Regions from separate parts of the Homo sapiens genome. Here region 2 is linked to region 1. Evidence: promoter capture Hi-C in 16 types of primary human blood cells and fetal thymus (Javierre and others, 2016). All regions are on one chromosome and are shown on one strand. Each heading gives the region's core, a stretch centred on a gene start or on the middle of the fragment in contact. The rest is flanking DNA. Distances are from core to core; before and after follow the strand shown. Region 1 holds the start of STH (saitohin). Region 2 holds the start of LRRC37A3 (leucine rich repeat containing 37 member A3).

The links. Contacts are between HindIII fragments. The CHiCAGO score rates a contact against its expected background, and 5 or more counts as called.
Region 2: a contact is called between a fragment that was not itself captured here and the fragment with the promoter of STH in region 1, in 17 of 17 cell types (total CD4 T cells, endothelial precursors, M2 macrophages and 14 more). The highest score is 121.2, in total CD4 T cells.

The regions. Positions count from the first base shown.
Region 1 is chr17:45,994,366-46,000,499 of GRCh38, forward strand. It overlaps STH (saitohin), which reads left to right and starts at 4,885. Exons shown (of 1, transcript NM_001007532.3): 1 at 4,885-5,329. The coding sequence starts at 4,915. The coding sequence ends at 5,301. It overlaps MAPT (microtubule associated protein tau), which reads left to right. Exons shown (of 13, transcript NM_001377265.1): 9 at 2,034-2,299. The HindIII fragment of the contact is 3,833 bases long and covers 3,910-6,134 here.
Region 2 is chr17:64,919,271-64,925,648 of GRCh38, forward strand. LRRC37A3 (leucine rich repeat containing 37 member A3) reads right to left here and starts at 208. Exons shown (of 15, transcript NM_199340.5): 1 at 161-208. RefSeq lists silencers at 8-97, 198-417 and enhancers at 33-533, 609-1,110, 1,111-1,610. The HindIII fragment of the contact is 2,201 bases long and covers 1,517-3,717 here.

The DNA.
Region 1 (6,134 bases), core at 3,635-6,134:
TCTCTGAAGTCAGGGAGGCAGGAGGATGGGAGGTCTGAGGAGGCAGAGAGGCTGAGCCTGGAGGCCCTGGAGGCCGAGGCCCCATCTGTTGTTTCCTTATGTGGAAAATAAGAGGCTTCGTTTGTCCTATTGCCACAGAGCGTACTACTTCAGGAACATCCAAGACATGGAAATCCGCAGGGCACGGTGGCTCACGTCTATAATCCCGGCACTTTGGGAGGTTGAGGTGGGAGAATCGCTTGAGGCCAGAAGTTCAAGACCAGCCTGAGCAACATAGTCAGACCCCGTCTCTATAAAAAACATTATTTTTAAAAAAGACATGGAAGTCAAATTCTAAAAACTGGTGCTGGCTGGGTGCGGTGGCTCATGCCTATAATCCCAGCACTTTGGGAGGCCGAGGCGGGTGGATCACCTGAGGTCAGGAGTTCAAGACCAGCCTGGCCAACATGGTAAAACCTCTACTAAAGAAATCTTTACTGAAAATACAAAAATCCAGTCTCTACTAAAATAAGTCTCTACTAAAAATACAAAAATTAGCCAGGCGTGGTGCTGCACACCTGTAATATCAGCTACTCGGGAGGCTGAGGCAGGAGACTCGCTTGATCCCATGCAGCGGAGGTTGCAGTGAGCCGAGATCACGCCATTGCACTCCAGCCTGGGCATCAGAATAAGACTCCGTCTCAAAAAAAAAACCACAAAAAAACAAAACAACAACAAAAGAAAACTAGTGCTTATTCGTCACTGGCCAAGCTGCCCATTGGCTACATGGGTGCTTCAAAGAGCTGCCCTTCTCCAGGTCTGGCCAGCAGGTATGTGTTACAGCAAATGCCTGGGGCAGCGGCAGGGGCATTGCTGCGGGAAGCTTCTGGACTTGCAGGAAAGCTAAGTTCTCAGACTGCAGGGGAGCTAAGCACACCTCGGCACAGGGTGAGGCCTGCGGTTCTCAGACTTCAGTCTTTGTGGAGCTTGAGAAAAATGAGGCTTTGCAGGTCCCACCCCTAGAGATTCTGCTCTATCCACTCTTGAAGGGGATCGAGAAATTTGCATTTTGCAACTCCCACTTTCCTCCTTGAAAGCTCCGGAGATTCTGACGCAGGGTTCCGTGGGCCACACTTTGGAAAATACAGACCCATGAGATAGAATACCAGACTGTTGAAGTGTAACGGGGGCCTGGGAAGTGCAGTAACAGAAGCAAGTTTGAGGGTAAAGGACACCCAGAGGAGGGAGGGACAGCATCTGCATGGAGAGGAGAAGAGACCCCCCAGCAGCTTCCAGGGTGTTGGAAGGGTGCGCTAGTAACTGCTATGCATGGCAGGTGGGGAACTGTACGTCAGGGCACAGCAGCATGAAGCGGTATGGCTCGTGTGGACAGCTAGGGACAGGCAGGCGTGGAGCAGGCATCCTGTTCTGAAGGCCAAATCCCACAGAGGAGCCAGGGTGCTGGCAGGAGCCCTGAACTAGCCGAACAGCTGAACAGCTGAACATTCACCCTGTGGGGAAAGGGTCAGAAGCGTCCAGGCTTGAGGGCACAGCTGGGTCTCGTCACTGCATCACCCTTATTTAGGATAAAGGCCCTGAAGAATTGTATTAGAGGTTGGCAAAGCATATCTACCACCTCCTGGAGCCACGCTGGCCGCAGGGATTATAATTATTTCCATTTTCAAATTAAGGCCTCTGAGCTCAGAGAGGGGAAGTTACTTGTCTGAGGCCACACAGCTTGTTGGAGCCCATCTCTTGACCCAAAGACTGTGGAGCCGAGTTGGCCACCTCTCTGGGAGCGGGTATTGGATGGTGGTTGATGGTTTTCCATTGCTTTCCTGGGAAAGGGGTGTCTCTGTCCCTAAGCAAAAAGGCAGGGAGGAAGAGATGCTTCCCCAGGGCAGCCGTCTGCTGTAGCTGCGCTTCCAACCTGGCTTCCACCTGCCTAACCCAGTGGTGAGCCTGGGAATGGACCCACGGGACAGGCAGCCCCCAGGGCCTTTTCTGACCCCACCCACTCGAGTCCTGGCTTCACTCCCTTCCTTCCTTCCCAGGTGAACCTCCAAAATCAGGGGATCGCAGCGGCTACAGCAGCCCCGGCTCCCCAGGCACTCCCGGCAGCCGCTCCCGCACCCCGTCCCTTCCAACCCCACCCACCCGGGAGCCCAAGAAGGTGGCAGTGGTCCGTACTCCACCCAAGTCGCCGTCTTCCGCCAAGAGCCGCCTGCAGACAGCCCCCGTGCCCATGCCAGACCTGAAGAATGTCAAGTCCAAGATCGGCTCCACTGAGAACCTGAAGCACCAGCCGGGAGGCGGGAAGGTGAGAGTGGCTGGCTGCGCGTGGAGGTGTGGGGGGCTGCGCCTGGAGGGGTAGGGCTGTGCCTGGAAGGGTAGGGCTGCGCCTGGAGGTGCGCGGTTGAGCGTGGAGTCGTGGGACTGTGCATGGAGGTGTGGGGCTCCCCGCACCTGAGCACCCCCGCATAACACCCCAGTCCCCTCTGGACCCTCTTCAAGGAAGTTCAGTTCTTTATTGGGCTCTCCACTACACTGTGAGTGCCCTCCTCAGGCGAGAGAACGTTCTGGCTCTTCTCTTGCCCCTTCAGCCCCTGTTAATCGGACAGAGATGGCAGGGCTGTGTCTCCACGGCCGGAGGCTCTCATAGTCAGGGCACCCACAGCGGTTCCCCACCTGCCTTCTGGGCAGAATACACTGCCACCCATAGGTCAGCATCTCCACTCGTGGGCCATCTGCTTAGGTTGGGTTCCTCTGGATTCTGGGGAGATTGGGGGTTCTGTTTTGATCAGCTGATTCTTCTGGGAGCAAGTGGGTGCTCGCGAGCTCTCCAGCTTCCTAAAGGTGGAGAAGCACAGACTTCGGGGGCCTGGCCTGGATCCCTTTCCCCATTCCTGTCCCTGTGCCCCTCGTCTGGGTGCGTTAGGGCTGACATACAAAGCACCACAGTGAAAGAACAGCAGTATGCCTCCTCACTAGCCAGGTGTGGGCGGGTGGGTTTCTTCCAAGGCCTCTCTGTGGCCGTGGGTAGCCACCTCTGTCCTGCACCGCTGCAGTCTTCCCTCTGTGTGTGCTCCTGGTAGCTCTGCGCATGCTCATCTTCTTATAAGAACACCATGGCAGCTGGGCGTAGTGGCTCACGCCTATAATCCCAGCACTTTGGGAGGCTGAGGCAGGCAGATCACGAGGTCAGGAGTTCGAGACCAACCTGACCAACAGGGTGAAACCTCGTCTCTACTAAAAATACAAAAATACCTGGGCGTGGTGGTGGTGCGCGCCTATAATCCCAGCTACTCAGGAGGCTGAGGCAGGAGAATCGCTTGAACCCAGGAGGCAGAGGTTGCAGTGAGCCGAGATAGTGCCACTGCACTCCAGTTTGAGCAACAGAGCGAGACTCTGTCTCAAAACAAAATAAAACAAACCAAAAAAACCCACCATGGCTTAGGGCCCAGCCTGATGACCTCATTTTTCACTTAGTCACCTCTCTAAAGGCCCTGTCTCCAAATAGAGTCACATTCTAAGGTACGGGGGTGTTGGGGAGGGGGGTTAGGGCTTCAACATGTGAATTTGCGGGGACCACAATTCAGCCCAGGACCCCGCTCCCGCCACCCAGCACTGGGGAGCTGGGGAAGGGTGAAGAGGAGGCTGGGGGTGAGAAGGACCACAGCTCACTCTGAGGCTGCAGATGTGCTGGGCCTTCTGGGCACTGGGCCTCGGGGAGCTAGGGGGCTTTCTGGAACCCTGGGCCTGCGTGTCAGCTTGCCTCCCCCACGCAGGCGCTCTCCACACCATTGAAGTTCTTATCACTTGGGTCTGAGCCTGGGGCATTTGGACGGAGGGTGGCCACCAGTGCACATGGGCACCTTGCCTCAAACCCTGCCACCTCCCCCCACCCAGGATCCCCCCTGCCCCCGAACAAGCTTGTGAGTGCAGTGTCACATCCCATCGGGATGGAAATGGACGGTCGGGTTAAAAGGGACGCATGTGTAGACCCTGCCTCTGTGCATCAGGCCTCTTTTGAGAGTCCCTGCGTGCCAGGCGGTGCACAGAGGTGGAGAAGACTCGGCTGTGCCCCAGAGCACCTCCTCTCATCGAGGAAAGGACAGACAGTGGCTCCCCTGTGGCTGTGGGGACAAGGGCAGAGCTCCCTGGAACACAGGAGGGAGGGAAGGAAGAGAACATCTCAGAATCTCCCTCCTGATGGCAAACGATCCGGGTTAAATTAAGGTCCGGCCTTTTCCTGCTCAGGCATGTGGAGCTTGTAGTGGAAGAGGCTCTCTGGACCCTCATCCACCACAGTGGCCTGGTTAGAGACCTTGGGGAAATAACTCACAGGTGACCCAGGGCCTCTGTCCTGTACCGCAGCTGAGGGAAACTGTCCTGCGCTTCCACTGGGGACAATGCGCTCCCTCGTCTCCAGACTTTCCAGTCCTCATTCGGTTCTCGAAAGTCGCCTCCAGAAGCCCCATCTTGGGACCACCGTGACTTTCATTCTCCAGGGTGCCTGGCCTTGGTGCTGCCCAAGACCCCAGAGGGGCCCTCACTGGCCTTTCCTGCCTTTTCTCCCATTGCCCACCCATGCACCCCCATCCTGCTCCAGCACCCAGACTGCCATCCAGGATCTCCTCAAGTCACATAACAAGCAGCACCCACAAGGTGCTCCCTTCCCCCTAGCCTGAATCTGCTGCTCCCCGTCTGGGGTTCCCCGCCCATGCACCTCTGGGGGCCCCTGGGTTCTGCCATACCCTGCCCTGTGTCCCATGGTGGGGAATGTCCTTCTCTCCTTATCTCTTCCCTTCCCTTAAATCCAAGTTCAGTTGCCATCTCCTCCAGGAAGTCTTCCTGGATTCCCCTCTCTCTTCTTAAAGCCCCTGTAAACTCTGACCACACTGAGCATGTGTCTGCTGCTCCCTAGTCTGGGCCATGAGTGAGGGTGGAGGCCAAGTCTCATGCATTTTTGCAGCCCCCACAAGACTGTGCAGGTGGCCGGCCCTCATTGAATGCGGGGTTAATTTAACTCAGCCTCTGTGTGAGTGGATGATTCAGGTTGCCAGAGACAGAACCCTCAGCTTAGCATGGGAAGTAGCTTCCCTGTTGACCCTGAGTTCATCTGAGGTTGGCTTGGAAGGTGTGGGCACCATTTGGCCCAGTTCTTACAGCTCTGAAGAGAGCAGCAGGAATGGGGCTGAGCAGGGAAGACAACTTTCCATTGAAGGCCCCTTTCAGGGCCAGAACTGTCCCTCCCACCCTGCAGCTGCCCTGCCTCTGCCCATGAGGGGTGAGAGTCAGGCGACCTCATGCCAAGTGTAGAAAGGGGCAGATGGGAGCCCCAGGTTATGACGTCACCATGCTGGGTGGAGGCAGCACGTCCAAATCTACTAAAGGGTTAAAGGAGAAAGGGTGACTTGACTTTTCTTGAGATATTTTGGGGGACGAAGTGTGGAAAAGTGGCAGAGGACACAGTCACAGCCTCCCTTAAATGCCAGGAAAGCCTAGAAAAATTGTCTGAAACTAAACCTCAGCCATAACAAAGACCAACACATGAATCTCCAGGAAAAAAGAAAAAGAAAAATGTCATACAGGGTCCATGCACAAGAGCCTTTAAAATGACCCGCTGAAGGGTGTCAGGCCTCCTCCTCCTGGACTGGCCTGAAGGCTCCACGAGCTTTTGCTGAGACCTTTGGGTCCCTGTGGCCTCATGTAGTACCCAGTATGCAGTAAGTGCTCAATAAATGTTTGGCTACAAAAGAGGCAAAGCTGGCGGAGTCTGAAGAATCCCTCAACCGTGCCGGAACAGATGCTAACACCAAAGGGAAAAGAGCAGGAGCCAAGTCACGTTTGGGAACCTGCAGAGGCTGAAAACTGCCGCAGATTGCTGCAAATCATTGGGGGAAAAACGGAAAACGTCTGTTTTCCCCTTTGTGCTTTTCTCTGTTTTCTTCTTTGTGCTTTTCTCTGTTTTCAGGATTTGCTACAGTGAACATAGATTGCTTTGGGGCCCCAAATGGAATTATTTTGAAAGGAAAATGCAGATAATCAGGTGGCCGCACTGGAGCACCAGCTGGGTAGGGGTAGAGATTGCAGGCAAGGAGGAGGAGCTGGGTGGGGTGCCAGGCAGGAAGAGCCCGTAGGCCCCGCCGATC
Region 2 (6,378 bases), core at 1,367-3,866, about 19 Mb after region 1:
GCGGAGGGAGAAGGGAAAGCGGCCGGGAAGGGGCGGGCGCAATGGGCGCAGTGGGGGCGGCCGGGGCCGGGTGGGGAGGCCAGAGGGGCAGGGCAGGAGGGGCCCGGCCTGCGGAAGCGGTTGGAGGGAGAAGGCTCAATCCGAATGGCTGGGGCCTCACTGCGGATCGCCTTCAGCCGCCATCTTGTTTCTTCCGTTACCGGAGCGCGGTCACGTGAGCTGAGCAGCCTACGAGCCTGGGACGGGGCGAGGTGGCGCGGCGGCCGCTAGGGGGAGCGCGGGAGCATTGAGTCGGGGGCGGAGAGCCTGGGGCGCCGGGGCTGGGCGCAGCGCGGCGCGGCTGGACTCCGGGCGCGGTGGCGCCGTTGAGAGAGACGCGCAGCTCGCGAAATGCCCCGCGGCTAAGGCCTTCGGAGACCATAGTCTCCGCGGACCCCTGGCTGGAGCCCAAAGCCGGCCGGACCTCCTCCCTGCGTCTCCCCTTCCGCGGCTCGGAGAGGAAGGCAGGAGAGCCCCCAAATATTCCCCTCCCGCCCCCTAGGGAAACTGAAGCTGAAAGAGCCAGCGAAAGAAAAAAAAAGTCTCGGAGTGGGGCGGCCCGAGCGACCTAAGGGACGGGGCAGCGCCAGCGACCGAGGGAAATTAGTCGGGGTGGGGGAACAGGGAGACAAGCCCCCAGAATTTAGGAAACTCCTAAATTCTACTAAAAATACAAAAATTACCTGGGCATGGTGGCGGGTGCCTGTAATCCTAGCTACTGAGGAGGCTGAGGCAGAAGAATCGCTTGAACCCCTGAGGTGGAGGTTGCAGTGAGCCAAGATTGCGCCATTGTACTCCAGCCTGGGCTGCAAGAGTGAGACTCCTTCTCAAAAAATAAAATAAAATAAATCAAGAAAAGTCTGGAAACCATGCCAACTGGTGAAATGAATAAAGAAATAAATGTTGTCTGGACTGAGTGGCTCACACCTCTAATCCCAGTACTTTGGAGGCCGAGGCGGGCAGATCACTTGAGGCCAGGAGTTCAAACCAGTCTGGGCAACATGGTGAAACCCTGTCTTTTCTACAATTGCAAACAAATTAGCCGGACGTGGTGGTGCATGCCTGTAATCCCAGCTACTCGGGATGCTGAGGCCCGAGAATCGCTTGAACCTGGGAGGCAGAGGTTGCAATGAACTAAGATAACGCCACTGCACTCCAGCCTGGGTGACAGAATGAGACTAGGTCTCAAAAAAAAAATTATAATTCAGTAACATAGTCAGTTACAAGATAAACATTGAGCCTGCCTCCTAGGTTCAAGCGATTCTCATGACTCAGCCTCCCGAGTTGCTGAGATTACAGGCGTGTGCCACCATGCCTGGATAATTTTTTGTACTTTTAGTGCAGACGGTGTTTCACCATGTTGGTCAGGCTGGCCTCCAACTCCTGACCTCAAGTAATCCACCCACCTCAGTCTTCCAAAGTGCTGGGATTACAAGCGTGAGCCACTGTGCCCGGCCTCAATTTGGGTTTTTATGGAAGCTTCATTACAGAGTCATTAATGATTACACCGTTGGCCGTTGGTGGTCAGCTTAACCTTCAGCCTCTCTCTCTTTCTCAGAGGTTGAGAGTGGCACTGAAAGCCCTGACCACCAGCCCCAATCCTGAGGCTGTCTAGGAAAGCCTAATCAGTCAATCATTAGCATAAAAAAAAGACTTATTTTGCAGATTCTGAGGGTTTTAGGAATTGTATGCCAGGAACCAGGAAGATCAAATACGTGTTTCACAGTCTCACAGGACCACATAGAGGAGATTGGTCATCAGTGTTTCTCAACAGAAGCGCTTTGGCCTTTTGGACAAGCCAGTTTACACACTGTAGGAAGAAGTTTAGCATCTCTGGGCCCGGATACCAAAGGCTAGTACCAGCCTCATCATTTTTACAACCAAAAAGGTAACCTTGCCCGCTCCCCATACATTCCCACTAGGAGGTGTCAGAACCACTTCCGGCTGAGAACCACTGGAATACATTTTGGAATATCCAAAAAATGTACTTCCATTTTAAGAAAATAATGTGGGATTGGTGTTTTTCATTTTTTAATTATTTGGAGGAAATTGCCAATGACAAGTGCTTGAACAAAAAATCCAAATTACAGACTAGTGTATATATAGTGTGATGTATCCATTCAATTCACTCAGGAAATGTTTATTTAACACTTAAGGTGTGCCATGCACTGTTTCCATTCCACATTCTGTACAGAGTGGGAAAATATTTGTAGTTTATATCCTTTATATGTAAATAAATAGGTCAGTTGCACTTCAAAGCCAACAAATAAAAGTGATCTCTAAATCTAAACCCCAAAGACAATCATTTTTAAACAACTTTAGAATATATCTTGTATATATTGTTTTAATGCATGTGTTCATATATAAACACATTTTATACAAAAACAATCTAATGAGGAAGAAAAATTATACTTTGGGAAAGAAGGAGCCGGGTGCAATGGTTCACGTCTGTAATCCCAGCACTTTGGGAGGCCAAGGGAGGTGAATCACATGGCGCCAGGAGTTCAAGACCAGCCTGGCTGACATAGTGAAACCCCATCTCTACAAAAATACAAACATTAGCTGGGCGTGGTGGCGCACACCTGTAGTCCTGGCTACTCCGGAGACTCAGGCAAGAGAATCGCTTGAACCTAAAAGGCAGAGGTTGCAGTGAGGCGAGATCGCGCCACCACATTCCAGCCTGGGCGACAGAGTGAGACTCTGTCTCAAAAACAAAAACACATTATTGCTAAGGTAATTTGCTTTTGAGTTCAAGACCAGCCTGACCAACATGAGGAAACTCCGTCTCTGCTAAAGTTTCAAATATGTATAAGTACTGGCATATTTTAAAAATACATTTTATTTTCTTTTTAGTTTATAAGATATGTGATTCCTTCTTTACATCTACCTATTTTTATTTCTGCCTCTTTTTTTAAATAGGGTTAATTTTTTTTTTTTAAATGGAGTCTTGCTCTGTTGCCCAGGCTGGAGGGCGTAGGGCTGCCTCTGCTCACTGCAATCTCCGCTTCCCGGGTTGGAGCAATTCTCCTGCCTCAGCCTCCTGAGTATCTGGCATTACAGGCACCTGCCACCATGCCCAGCTTTTTTTGTATTTTTAGTAGAGACGGGGTTTCACCATGTTAGCCAAGCTGGTCTTGAACTCCTGACCTCAAGTGATCCTCCCTCCTCAGCCGCTCAAAGTGCTGGGATTACAGGTGTGAGCCACCATGCCCGGCCTGTCAAATTGCTCTATAATTTCATTTGGAGTGAATTCAGATTAGACCATTGATTTTATTGGCTTTTTTTTTTTTTTGCTTTTTGAGAAGCAGGGCCTTATTCTTTTTCCTAGGCTGCAGTGCAGTGGTGCAATCACACCCCATCGCAGCCTCCCCCTACCCAGATCAGTAAGTCCTTCCGCCTCAGGCTCCCAAGTAGCTGGGACTACAGGCGCGTGCCCTGCCACCATCTCTGGCTAATTTTGGGGTGTTTTTTGTTGTTATTGTTGTTGTCATTGTTTTTTTGTAGAGACAAGGTTTTGCCATGTTGCCCAGGCTGGTCTCAAACTCCTGGGCTCAAGCAAGTGATCTTCCTTCCTTGACTTCCCAAAGTGCTGGGATTATAGGCATGAGCCACCGTATGGGCCCTGGTTATCTTTTTTTCATATTACACATTTTCATTTTCAAACATTTGAATTTTGCAAGCTTATTTTGAGTGAGAGGAGTGTTGTTTTCTTCTCTCCTGAAGCCCAGTGTAGCCCAGTCAACCCTTAACTTCCAGCAGGGAGCCAGCGCTTATCACTGCCTCACACACAGCATGTTAGCCTCCCTTATCCCCGAGAAACTCATACTGTTAGTGTTCAGCCACCACTTCCTCCTTCTGCATCTGGAGTCTAGAAGGCCTGCAGTTTTAGTCCTGCTCACAGTTTTGTGTCTGTTCCGTTGAGATTGTTGTAACTTATTTAAGCATGACTATGTCTTTTCAATTTCTCTTTTTTATATTTTACTCTCACTTGTATGTTCTTGAAGGGAGAGGGAGGATCAAAGTGTGCGCCCGCTATACCATCTTGGTTTTCCCAAAATCTGTCCCACGATGTTATAAAAATATATGAACTAGGAAATGAAACTCAAGGTTTTCTTTCTAACCAAGGAAGAAGTTCAGTCTCTCTCTATAAATAGAGAAGGGCTGTTGAATAATTTGTCACATTGCTTCTCTTTTGACTTTATAAGACTAGATAGTCTATAGACAGAGAAACAGTTTCATTAAACCAGGGCCATTCAGGTTTATTTGGTAAAATATTTGTGATATATTTAAAAGCTTCCTGAGGTACTCATGTAATGATTGTTACTAGTATAATTGGTGCATAGGGCTGGGTGACCCTGCAAAAAAAGAGGCACAGCAAACTTTATTTCAGGTACAGATGGACCTTACCTTTAGGCAAATCCTTGAAATTTTGGCGTGGGGAATCAGGTTTTTCTGTGGGTTTTTTGTTTGTTTTTGGCTTTTCATAGACAGCTATATGAAGTCTCTGCTTTAGAATCTATAAAACTATAGCTTCAGAGGCTGGGCGAAATGGCTCATGCCTATAATCCCAGCACTTTGGGAGGCTGAGGTGAAAGGATCACTTGAGGTCAGGAGATCGAGACCAGCCTGGCTAACAGGGCGAAACCCCGTCTGTACTAAAAATGCAAAAATTAGCCAGGCATGGTGGCAGGCACCTGTAATCCCAGCTGCTTGGGAGGCTGAGGGAGGAGAATCACTTGAACCCAGAAGGCGGAGGTTGCAGTGAGCCGAGATCATGCCACTGCACGACAGAGCGAGACTCCATGTCGAAACAAAAAACTGTAGCTTCAGAGATTCACTTAAATTATCATTTATAGGCCAAGAGAGTTGTGGCTCACAGCCTGTAATCCCAGCATTCTAAAAGGCTGAGGTGGGTGGATCACTTGAGGCCAGGATTTTGAGACCAGCCTGGGCAACATGGCAAAACCCTGTTTCTACAAAAAGGAATTTGCTGGGTGTTGTGATGCACACCTGTAGTCTCAGCTACTTGGCGAGGCTGAGGCCAGGGGACTGCTTGACCCCAGGAGGTCGACCCTGCAGTGAGCCATGATAGCACCACTGTACTCTAGCCGGGGCGATCAAGTGAGGCCCTATCTCCAAAAAAAAGTTTTGTTTTGTTTTGTTTTAACAGGGTCTCACTTTGTCATCTACATTGGAGCACAGTGGTGCCATCACAGCTCACTGAAGTCTTCACCTCTCAGGCTTAAGGGAGCCTCCAACCTCAGCCTTCCAAGTAGTTGGCACTACAGGCATGCGTCACCACACCTGGCTCATTTTTGTATTTTTTAGTAGAGATGGGGTTTCACCATGTGTCCAGGCTGGTCTTGAGCTCCTGGACGCAAGTGATCTTCCGCCCTCGGCCTCCCAAACTGCTGGGATTACAGGTGTGAGCCACTGTGCTGGACGAATTTTTTTAAAGAAGGAAAAATAAAATTAATTCGGCCCTTCATTAAAAAAATTAAAAACTCTTTAAAGGAAACGTGGGCTAAGTTATTTTTCTGAGAGACTATAAGATTTGGGAAGAAAAATAATCATGATGAAACGTTTTGGGAATATTTTTGGTATTTAAAATTATTGTAGAAATTTATAAATGTGTCAGATTTTGGCTGGGCACAGTGGCTCACACTTGTAATCCAAGCACTTTGGGAGGCCAAGGTGGGCAGACCACCTGAGGTCGGGAGTTCGAGACCAGCCTAGCCAACATGGTGAAACCCTATCTCTAAAAGAATTTTTAAAAAAATTTTAAGTCAGATTTTAAGAAATATTCTTATGGCTGGGTACAGGTGGCTCATAACTGTCATCCCAGCACTTTGGGAGGCAAAGGCAGGCGGATCACTTGAGCTCAGGAGGTAAGTTACCTGGGCAACACAGCAAGACTCCATCTCTACAAAAAAAAAAAGTAGCTGGGCATGGTGGTGAGCACCTGTAGCTACTTGAGGGGTTAAGTCAGGAGGATCACTTGAGCCTGGCAGGTCAAGGCTATAGCAAGCCGTGTTTATGTCACTGCAGTCCAGGCAGGGTGACAAAGTGAAACTCTTATCTCCAAATGAGAAAGAAATCCTCTTGGTCGTAGATATGATTTCTTTACACCAAGTTTGTTCGTGGATGCCAATCACAATGGGTTTGTCCCTAGGGTAATATAGTTTGCTTTGATCATTTCCAAGAGTAAGTTGTACTACAGGATAGCAGAAGAGATGCACTTAAAAAGTATGGCAAAATGCATATTGAGACAATAGTATGTTGGCCAGACACAGAGACTCACGCTTGTAATCCCAGCACTTTGGGAGGCTGAGGTGGGTC